Regions from separate parts of the Homo sapiens genome. Here all the other regions are linked to region 1. The links are contacts of gene promoters, found by promoter capture Hi-C in human tissues and cell types (Jung and others, 2019). All regions are on one chromosome and are shown on one strand. The core of a region is centred on a gene start or on the middle of the fragment in contact, and the rest is flanking DNA. Distances in the headings are between cores, read along the strand shown.

Region 1 (3,332 bases), core at 36-2,535:
CAGGCCCCTTCACGAGGGTCATGTCATCTCACCAGAACCACTCCATGGTCAGTGTCTCTTATCAGTAAGGAATACTGGTCAATTGGGCCGAAACTGCAAATGAGAGAGTTGTTATCAGCGGTGGAGTCTTTCGAAAGCGCTGGTTTCCGTTAAGCTCTTAGCCAAGAAAACCTAATGGTAGTTAGCCAAGGGTTGGCCTTAATAACAGGTGTCTCACCTCCCATCTGTCATGGCTGAGAACTGCCTTCAAGGCAACCCTGGGATCTCCTTAGCCAGTAGGGGGTTCGTGTAGTCAGTTGGGGGTCTTTGGATTTCATTTTCATTTCTCAGAGGACAGGAAGGAAGGCTCTAACATGGGGAATCCTGAGAACTGCTGCTGTCTGTTAAATACGCCTACAAGTTATTTTTCTTATGTCACACTCTCCCAGACATGTTCTTACTTCTCATTTCTGATTTCTGTAATACACACACACTGATTTCATAAAACGTTTATGAGTCCAACACTTCCATTATAGCCCTGTATCAATGTTTTGCTTAGCTGAAATCAATTTCTTGGAGGAGTAAGTGTTATCTTTACTTTGTAAGCTGTAAGGGCCCAAATCAATGTACTTGGTAAAACTATCCATAGTGAACACACGCAAATGTCAAATGGCCATCATTTAGCATCTGCCCTCGGGCTTCCGGGTCCATCACGTGGTTACTGACAGGCAGGCCGCGCATGCGCGCTGCTACTCCGCCGAGCCTACGTGACACGACGTCAAGTGGCAATGGCGGCGGACGAGGGCTGTGCCCCCGGCCCGCCCCGTTAGGAGCCGCGAGTAAGGCGAGTGTCCAACGCCGAGCTGGCTGACAGAGCCCGGCCGCGGCCTCCGCGGGCCCAGGGGCCTCCAGGCCCCGTGACCACCGGACCGAGCACCCTGGAACGGCCCCAGCTTGGCCTCGGGACAGTCCGCGCGCTCACCGACTCCCTGGTGAACGCCGCTTGGCCGCCGCCGCCGCCGCAGGACCCACGAGAAGCGGAAACCGGCGCAAGGACCCGGTCCCCCCGGCGCCGTACGTGGAGTGAGCCTGCGGTCCGCCCCGCGCGCTCCGATTGGCTCTGGGGCCTGGCCCGCCCCTTCCCGACACTGTCATTGGCCTAGGCAAAGCCGTAAGGGTGGGGAATCCTATTGGCCCAGGGGTGCGGCTTGTCCTCTCCCGGTGCTCTCATTGGCCGAGCGCGGCCGTTGGGGGTGAGGCCGCGTCGGGGGAGGACAACAAAGGGCCGCGGGCGGCGGGCAGTGGTGTCCCAGTCTCCCGGTGCTTCCCTGAGGCTGAGGCGCCCGGCCTCCCGCCCGCCGCGCTCCAGATGAAGTGTGAGCACTGCACGCGCAAGGTGAGCGCCGCGGGCCGGGGAGGCGCGCGCCTGGTGCTTGTCCTGTGGGGCTCTGGGCGGCCGAGGTTGGCGGTCCGGGCCCGCCGCTCGCTCGCTTCAGGGCTCTTCAAGGCGCCCCCGGCCTCGGCACCCTGGGCCCGCTCGGCGTGGAGGCGGCCGGCGCGGGGTCCGCTGCGCTCTGCAGGGCGGGTTCGGTCTTCGCGGTTCTCCCTGAACTTGTCCATCTTTCCCACGCCCGCGAAGCGCGGAAACGCACGGAGACCGAGCCTCTCGTGCCGCGCACCACAGTCCGAGTAAACAGCGGTCGTGGCGGGAATGATCAGAAGCGTTTCGAGAGGGTTTTAGGCGTTTTCGAACCTGCCCCTCTGAGGGTCACCGAGCAGCCGGTGCAGGGGCGGAAGCGGGTGACGGCTGCTGACCGGCGCCTTCCGCGGTTGTCTCCAGGCCATGGCAACAACCGCGCAGCGCACGCAGGGGGGTTTTGTAGCTGTTATTGCCGGAATGGGCTCCTGTGGATGCTGCTCTGTGGCTGGCACTTCTGCGCGTGACGCCGTGGCAGGAGGCTTCCTAACATTCCATGGGTCGTTCATCCCCGGTGGTGGCTGCGTCCTATTCTAAGTACACCTGTGTCCAGGGGAATTCGCCTGTGGGGTGAAGGCTACAGTTGCTTCTGCTTTTTTATTATTGTAAACAATAGAGATGTGTGTGTGTCCTTCAGTACCTGTTTCACTAGAAGGGTTAGAAGGATAGAAGGCCAGGCACGGTGGCTCAAGCCTGTTATCCCAGCACCTTGGGAGGGGAGGCCGAGGCGGGTGGATCACCTGAGGTCAGCAGTTCAAGACCATCGTGGCCAACATGGCGAAACCCAGTCTCTACTAAAAATATAAAATTAGCTGGGTGTGGTGGCGCACACCTGTAATCCCAGCTACTCAGAAGGCCGAGGCAGGAGAATCGCTTGAACCCGGGAGGTGGAGGCTGCAGTGAGCCGAGATTGCGCCCCTGCACTCCAGCCTGGGTGAGAGCGAGACTCCGTCTAAAAAAATAAATAAATAAACTAAAAGAAAGGATAGAAATACATGAGCTTCATTGGTCAGAATGTGCACATTTTCTTAAGGGAGACGAAGTAAAAGTTCATTGATAATGTTCCTTTGCTTTTTTAAGGAATGTAGTAAGAAAACAAAAACTGATGACCAAGAGAATGTGTCAGCCGATGCACCGAGTCCAGCCCAGGAAAATGGAGAGGCAAGTAGATTTTTCAGTTTTGTATCAGCCCAGAGTAAACTACTGCTGCTGTTTTTCTCTTTGGGGGCTCACAGCACCGTGCACATCACTGCTTTAAAGAAGACTGAAGTACGCGGGCATGGTGGCTCACGCCTGGAATCCCAGCACTTTGGGAGGCCGAGGTGGACGGATCACTTGAGGTCAGGAGTTTGAGACCAGCCTGGCCAACATGGTGAAACCTTATCTCTGCTAAAAATACAAAAATTATCCAGGTATGGTGGTGTACGCCTGTAATCCCAGCTACTCAGGAGGCTGAGGCAGGAGAATTGCTTGACCCTGGAAGACAGAGGTTGCAGTGAGCTGAGATTGTACCACTGTACTTCAGCCTGGGCAACAGAGTGAGACTCTGTCCCAAAAAAAAGACTGAAATAGGCCAGGCGTGGTGGCTCATGCCTGTAATCCCAGAACTTTGGGAGGCCGAGGCAGGCGGATCATGAGATCAGGAGATTGAGACTATCCTGGCTAACACAGTGAAACCTCATCTCTACTAAAAATGCAAAAAATTAGCCGGGCGTGGTGGGGGGCGCCTGTAGTCCCAGCTACTCGGGAGGCTGAGCCAGGAGAAAGGCGTGAACCTGGGAGGCGGAACTTGCAGTGAGGCAAGATCGCGCCACTGCACTCCAGCCTGGGCAACAGAGTAAGACTCCGTCTCCGAGACTGAAATAAACTTGAAGGG
Region 2 (3,332 bases), core at 473-2,972, 120 kb before region 1:
TTTGAGACGGAGTCTCGCTCTGTCGCCCAGGCTGGAGTGCAGTGGCGCAATCTCGGCTCACTGCAAGCTCTGCCTCCTGGGTTCACACCATTCTCCTGCCTCAGCCTCCTGAGTAGCTGGGACTACAGGCGCCCGCCACCACGCCCAGCTAATTTTTCTGTATTTTTAGTAGAGACGGGGTTTCACCGTGTTAGCCAGGATGGTCTGGATCTCCTGACCTTGTGATCCGCCCATCTTGGCCTCCCAAAGTGCTGGATTACAGGCGTGAGCCACTGCACCCGGCCGTATCTTTCCATTTCTATACAATGCTGGGATCAGGCATCTTAGAGCGGATGTGTGGATTCATTCACCCTCAGCCTGTCCTTGAATCACAGCCTCTGCTGTGCCAGGTGACATGTGGAGTTTCATTTCCTTTCTGTTCGAGGAATTTGTAGATTTCAGTTATGATTTTCTGTTTAACTCTCCAAATTATTCGGCAGCATATTCTTAAAATCCCCAAGGTCCTGGAGCATTTGCTTTTCTTTTTTTTGGAGACAGAGTCTTGCTCTGTCGCCCAGGCTGGAGTGCAGTGGTGCGATTTCGGCTCACTGCAACCTCCGCCTCCCTAGTTCAAGCGATTCTCCTACCTCAGCCTCCTGAGTAGCTGGAACTACAGGCACGTGCCGCCACGCCCAGCTTTTATTTATTTATTTATTTTATTTTTGGTAGAGACGGGTTTCACTATGTTAGCCAGGCTTTTTTTTTCTTGAACTCCTGAGCTCAGGCAATCCACCCGCCTCGGCCTCCCAAAGTGCTGGGATTACAGGCGTGAGCCACTGTGCTGGCGGCATTTGCTTTTCTTTGTAACTTGATTCTCTGGGTTCCCTTGCCTTTCATCCTTGCCCACCCACGTGACTGCAGCCTGTGGGGCTTCCTCCTAATGTCCCGAAGATAACTCGTCATCCTTGACCCCGCCGCCACCTCGGGTTCTAGTGGAGGATGTGGCCCGCCTGCCACCCCCACAGGCACCGGGTCCTCCAGGCCTCCTTGACCCACTTCCAACCCACCTGGGATGTCTGCGCGTTACCAGCCCAGATGCCTCTTGGAGCCTTCCACCTGCACCCCATCTCCTGTCCCAACAGGCTGGGCCCCTCCTCCCGGGCTGGCCAAGCCAGTACCTCCGCAGGGGCCGCAGGTGCAGCACCCTCTGTGGGGGAGCTAGGGGGATCGCTCCTCTGCTCTGCGCACTTTTATGAAAGGGCCTCTGACCCTCCCACTGTCCTGCTCACTCTGCCCGCGCACCCCCGGCCACCTGGGGGCCGCCCCCCAAAGCCCTCGGCCCGTGGACAGACTCGCAGCCTCCTGGGAGCCGAGCCAACCGGCCCCACAGATTTGTGCATGACTCAGTTGTACCCACTGCTCACTGGCTGGAAGGGTCTCACGGGTCCTTCCAACATGTAATATTCTCTGACTGTTGGGAGCAAGGGTCTCTGCAGGTGTCCCTCCTGTCAAGGTGTCAGTGGGGTAGGTTAGGTCTTTTATATACTTGTCAATTTTTTTTTTTTAAGACGGAGTCTCGCTCTGTCGCCCAGGCTGGAGTGCAGTGGCACGATCTCAGCTCACTGCAAGCTCCGCCTCTCGGGTTCACGCCATTCTCCTGCCTCAGCCTCCCCAGCAGCTGGGACTACAGGCGCCCGCCACCACGCCCAGCTAATTTTTTGTATTTTTATATACTTGTCAATTTGTATGGGCTTGAGCTATCAGTAATTAAGAGAGATAGGTTGGAATGGCCTCCTATGGTGGGGGCTTAGCAGCCTCTTCTTGTGGTTCTAGGAATTTTTAATCATATATTTGGAGGCTTTTTTTTTTTAAGAGATGGGGTCTCCTGTAGTTGACCAGGCTGGCTTGCAGTGGCTGTTCACTGGCAGGATCGTAGCTCAATGTACCCTGACCTTCTGGGCTCAAGCGATCCTCCAGCCTCAGCTTTCTGAGTAGCTGGCACCACAGGCAGGCACCACAGATAAAAAGTCTAAAATGTTTGCTTCAGTCTTTGTCGTTTTGTTGCTCTTGTTCTTGTCTTGTGCTAACCTAATTCTAATTTATCTATTTTATAATATTCGGAAGTTTTAAAATATGAGGCTAATTTTAAATTCTTACCCAGCATGTGTTTCTGCTTTTGGTGGAATCCACAACCCAGCTTGTTATTTTCCACCTGAAAAGGCTGTGCTCCTCGAACATCCAGTTATGTTGCCCTGAGCCCCTTCACTTGCCAATCTTCTTGGTATTTCTTTTGGGATTTCACTGTCTTTATAGCTTCACTTTATTTTAATTCTATTTATTTATTTATTTGGGGGGGATGGAGTCTCACTATGTTGCCCAGGCTGGAGTGCAATGGCACGATCTCACCTCACGCAACCTCCACCACCCGGGTTCAAGTAATTCTCCTGCCTCAATCTCCCTAGTAGCTGAGATTAGAGGCGTGCACCTGGCTAATTTTTGTATTTTTAGTAGAGACGGGGTTTTGCCGTGTTGGCCAGGCTGGTCTCTAACTCCTGACCTCATAATCTACCCACCTTGGCCTCCCAAAGTGCTGGGATTACAGGCGTGAGCCACCGTGCCCAGCTGTTATAGCTTAATTTTAGAAAGAATGGCATTTTTAGGGCTGGGTGCGATGGCTCATGCCTGTAATCCTAGCACTCTGGGAGGCTGAAGTGAGACAATCTCTTGAGGCCAGGAATTTGAGACCAGCTTGGACAACACAGTGAGACCCATCTTCACAAAAATAAAATAATGAGCCGGGCGTGGTGGCCAGTGCCTGTAGCCCCAGCTACTTGGGAGGCTGAGGTAGGAGGATCTCTTGAGCCTGGGAGGTCGAGGCTGCATTGAACCGAGATCAGGCCACTGCACTGTAGCCTGAGCAACAGAGCGAGACCCTGCCTCAAAGAGAGAGAGAGAGAGAGAGAAAGAGAGAAAGAGAAAATACTTTTAATAGTAATCCTTCCTAGCCAATGAGATAGGAATGCTGGGTGGTCATAGGAGAAATGAGAAATATCAAACAGTAATCTTGCAGAAAAGCAAGAAAGCAGCTGTTAGAATGAGCCACAGAAAGCAACTGTTAGAATGAGCCACGGAAAGCAGCTGTTAGAATGAGCCATGGAAAGCAGCTGTTAGAATGAGCCACGGAAAGCAGCTGTTAGAATGAGCCACAAAGGCAGGGATGAGCCCGGACTGATGAGACCCTCGACCCCACAAGCAGGAGAGGCTACGTTGGAGGAGGCTGGCCGGATCCACCGTGGCACTAGGCTTGACCTGTGCCCACCCCAGACCTAATTGCACACTGACTGCCATTCACA
Region 3 (3,332 bases), core at 549-3,048, 87 kb before region 1:
GGCACTGGTAGTTCGGGGGAGCTGGCAAGCTCAGGCGAGTGGCCTCAGTGGTAAAACCAGCACTGGAGGCCAGGCACGGTGGCTCACGCCTGTAATCCTAGCACTTTGGGAGGCTGAGGTGGGCAGATCACCTGAGCTCAGGAGTTCGAGACCTACCCGGCCAACATGATGAAACCCCGTCTACTACAAACACAAAAATTAGCTGGGTGTGGTGGCGGGTGCCTGTAATCCCAGCTACTTGGGAGGCTGAGGCAGGAGAATTGCTTGAGCCTGGGAGGTGGAGGTTGCAGTGAGCCGAGGTTGCAGTGAGCCGAGATCGCACCACTGCACTCCAGCCCGGGTGAAAGAGTGAGACCCCATCTCAAAAAAATAAATAAATAAATAATAAAAAAATAAAATAAAAAATAAAAAACCCGGTGTTCGTGTCAGGGCAGGTCGTTTCAGCAGCTACTCGGTGAACTGGCTGAGGTGACAGCAGATCGTTTCGGCAGCTGGCTTGCGGGAAATTTAATTCTTGGAGCAGGCATTCTGGGTCCTGAGTGCTTTTCCCCAGCCCTAGCCCCTAGACTCCAGCTTAGTAATCAGCTCTCACAGAACCATCACGTCGGAGGCAGCCTTCCACCCCCTTTCCTCCCGCGCACAGGCAGGATGAGCTGCTCCCCTTTCGGGTCGGAAGCTGCAGCTGTATTTGGTTTCAGTTCGGCTGTTTTCAGCTCACAGAGAATGAACTGTCTTATTGTGTGACCCTTGCTCCGTCCAGCGGACGCTCGGAGACCAGAGGGACTTTTCCCGCCCTCTCCAGCCCAGCCTCGCCTCCCCAGCACGTGGCAAACGTCCCACGGAGGGGACTGGTGGGCATCTGGGGCTCCCCCGGATCCAGCTGATTGCAGGAGCCTCTCGGCCATTCACACTTGGCCACCTCCTCTCCCCCAGCAGAACCCCTTCAGCTTTAGGGGCCGGTCCGCGGCCTCAGGCAGCAGATGAGCCCCGGGCGGAGTGGAGTGGGCGAGGCCAGCTCCTCGCTGGGGGCCCTTTAGACCCCGTGTTCACAGCTCTCCAGCTCTCCTCTAGTCTAATTTATTAATGTTCTGTGTCTTTTTCTTTCAGGGGTTCAGCATGAGTGAAGGCCCACATCCTACCTCCGAGCAGCAAGTGAAACCGAGTGGGGGCCAGCACCCAGCTCAGGGGCTCGAGGGTGAGGCTGTGGGGTCCTTCCTCCTACCCCGCGGGGCCCTGCAGCTCCCAGCGTCACTTCCGTGGATGTGGCCACCACGAGTCCCTGCCGAGGCCTGGAGAGGCTGCGTGGGCTTCTAAGAGCATCTGTGGGAGACCCGCAACAGGGGCGGGGTCAAGGCCCCCAAAGAGCCCGTCCCCGCCTGGGCGGGTGACTCCCTCCCTCCCTTACCTCCTTTCTATGACCCTCTCGGGGTTTAGGGGTGTTCCTGCCCCCCACCTGCGCGCGGGCGGGTCCAGGGCTTGGTGGACACGGAGAATCCCAGGCTCCGTGCCCTGCAAACACGGGCGTGAGGGGCGCAGGGGTGAACGCTGGAGGCGGAGAACCCAAGAGGGGCTGCGGGGTCAGCCTTGGGGCAGCCGGGCTGGAGGCAGCTTCGCTCCGCAGACGCAGACGCGAGACCCGCCTGGGACCCTCCGCCGACCCCGCTGCGGCCCCGCGACCCCCGCGTCTTCCCGGCGCCGCGCGGTCAGCGCCGCCCCCTAGACACCCGGCGCCGTCCCCTCCGCGCGCCTGCTGCCCGCTGGGGTTATTTTAATACCGGGCCCTGGCGCGGGGCGCGGCGCATTCCCAGCTGGCGGCGGGCAGGTGGCGGCGGCGCAGAGACCCGGCGCGGGGCGGGGGGCGCGGCTTTGGTGGCGGGACTGGCGGGCGCCCCTGCCGTGTGCTCTGGAAGCCGAGGCCACCGCGGAGCCCCTCGCGCCCCCTCTGCGCTGGGACAGGGGAGCGCGCCTCGGAAAGTTCCCCGCGGCCCCGCTGCGCGAGGAGTTTGGAGCCGCGAGCGGCTGCCCCCACGCGCGACCCCAGGCTCGGCGGGCAGGTCTGGCCGCTCAGTGACCGGAGGCAGGTGGGTCCTCGGTGGGTGACCGGGAGCGCGCGGGGACTGCCGGGTCTGTGCCCTTCGGGGCCCTCCGCAGGGCTGGGCCGGGGTTTCGCGGTGGGAACCCACCCTGGGCGAGGGGAGCGGGGTCCAGCGAGGCGGCTTCTCCCGTGCCGTGGAACTTTCGGCCCCTCCCCTTCCCCCCTAGCGACCCTGGAGCAATCCTAGCGGCCCGGCGGCCGCTGTCCCCCTGCCCGTGACTCGGGCTCGCGCACAACTGGGGAGCCCGGTGCACCCTCGGCTTCTGCGCCGTCCCCTGGGTGAGGGCTCTGGAAATGCCCTGGGTGGGGGCAGCAAGGGGGTGAGGGTCCCCTGGACAGATGGAGCTGGGAGCTGCTCGGCCTGGTGGGAAAGGGCGGACAGGGCACATTTCCAGGCCCTGGAAGGCCCCCAGCGCCCCCACCTGTTGACAACTCCCCACCCCAGCCAAGACTGCTCCCTGCGCAGCCATGAGTGTTCGGCCTAAATTCAGCGTGGCTCGTGGAATCAGGCAGCCTCCTGTGTCTTGTTTCTTCAGCCCACCACCGCGCTGTTTCATCCAGGCTGCTGACCCCAGCGGCGACTCCTTCACTGGCTTCATGTCACAGTTTGCCTGCCCCGTCCACTGGGGACATTTGAGCTGTTTCCAGCTTCTTAGGAGTCAAGCTGCCGTGAACTTTCGCACGCTTGTCATTTTCTGAACGTTGGCAGCCCTTTATCTAAGGTACTAACCTGAGAGTAGAATTGCCGGGTGAGAAGGTATAGGCGGTCAACTCTGCAAATCGTGCCAATGGCTTTCCAAAGCGGCGGCACAGTCCAGGTTCCCAGCAACAGGAAACGGCAGGGCCAGCTCCTCCACAGCCCCCACGCCTGTTGACAAGGATATCTGCCTTTTCACGCGTTCATCCTTGTCAGCACGCAGGGGCTCCTGTGGCCCTGACTGGCATTTCCCTGCTTGTTGGCTGCGTGGGTGTCCTTTTCAGGAAGTCCCCGGTCACGGTTTTGGTCTCTTTTTTTCAAATGGGTTGTTTGTCTTTTCCTTACTAATTTGCAGTTCTTCCCTATATTTTTCTTACCAGCTTTTTGTCTATGTTTCTTCTTTTTTTTTTTCTCTGAGACAAAGTCTCACTTTGTTGCCCAGGCTGGAGTGCGGTGGCACAATCTCAATCTTGGCTCACTGCAACTTCCACCTCCCGAGTTCAAACAATTCTCCTGCCTCAGCCTCCCGAGCAGCTGGGA

Evidence for each region. Contacts are between HindIII fragments. The study calls those that stand out against the background at their distance.
Region 2: a contact is called between a fragment that was not itself captured here and the fragment with the promoter of NARF in region 1, in 3 of the 25 tissues and cell types used here (IMR-90 fibroblasts, dorsolateral prefrontal cortex and lymphoblastoid cells).
Region 3: the fragment with the promoter of UTS2R here is called in contact with the fragment with the promoter of NARF in region 1 in 2 of the 25 tissues and cell types used here (lymphoblastoid cells and stomach).

The regions. Positions count from the first base shown.
Region 1 is chr17:82,457,456-82,460,787 of GRCh38, forward strand. NARF (nuclear prelamin A recognition factor) reads left to right here and starts at 1,286. Exons shown (of 11, transcript NM_012336.4): 1 at 1,286-1,375; 2 at 2,537-2,617. The coding sequence starts at 1,349. It overlaps NARF-AS2 (NARF antisense RNA 2), which reads right to left and starts at 1,064. Exons shown (of 3, transcript NR_184099.1): 1 at 218-1,064; 2 at 1-93. RefSeq lists enhancers at 625-774, 1,208-2,040 and a silencer at 805-1,624. The HindIII fragment of the contact is 15,922 bases long and covers 1-3,332 here.
Region 2 is chr17:82,335,759-82,339,090 of GRCh38, forward strand. No RefSeq gene overlaps it. Among named protein-coding and RNA genes, the nearest start is that of SECTM1, 3.7 kb to the left of the region's middle. The HindIII fragment of the contact is 4,127 bases long and covers 1-3,332 here.
Region 3 is chr17:82,369,967-82,373,298 of GRCh38, forward strand. UTS2R (urotensin 2 receptor) reads left to right here and starts at 1,799. Exons shown (of 3, transcript NM_018949.3): 1 at 1,799-2,081; 2 at 2,632-2,817. The HindIII fragment of the contact is 34,629 bases long and covers 1-3,332 here.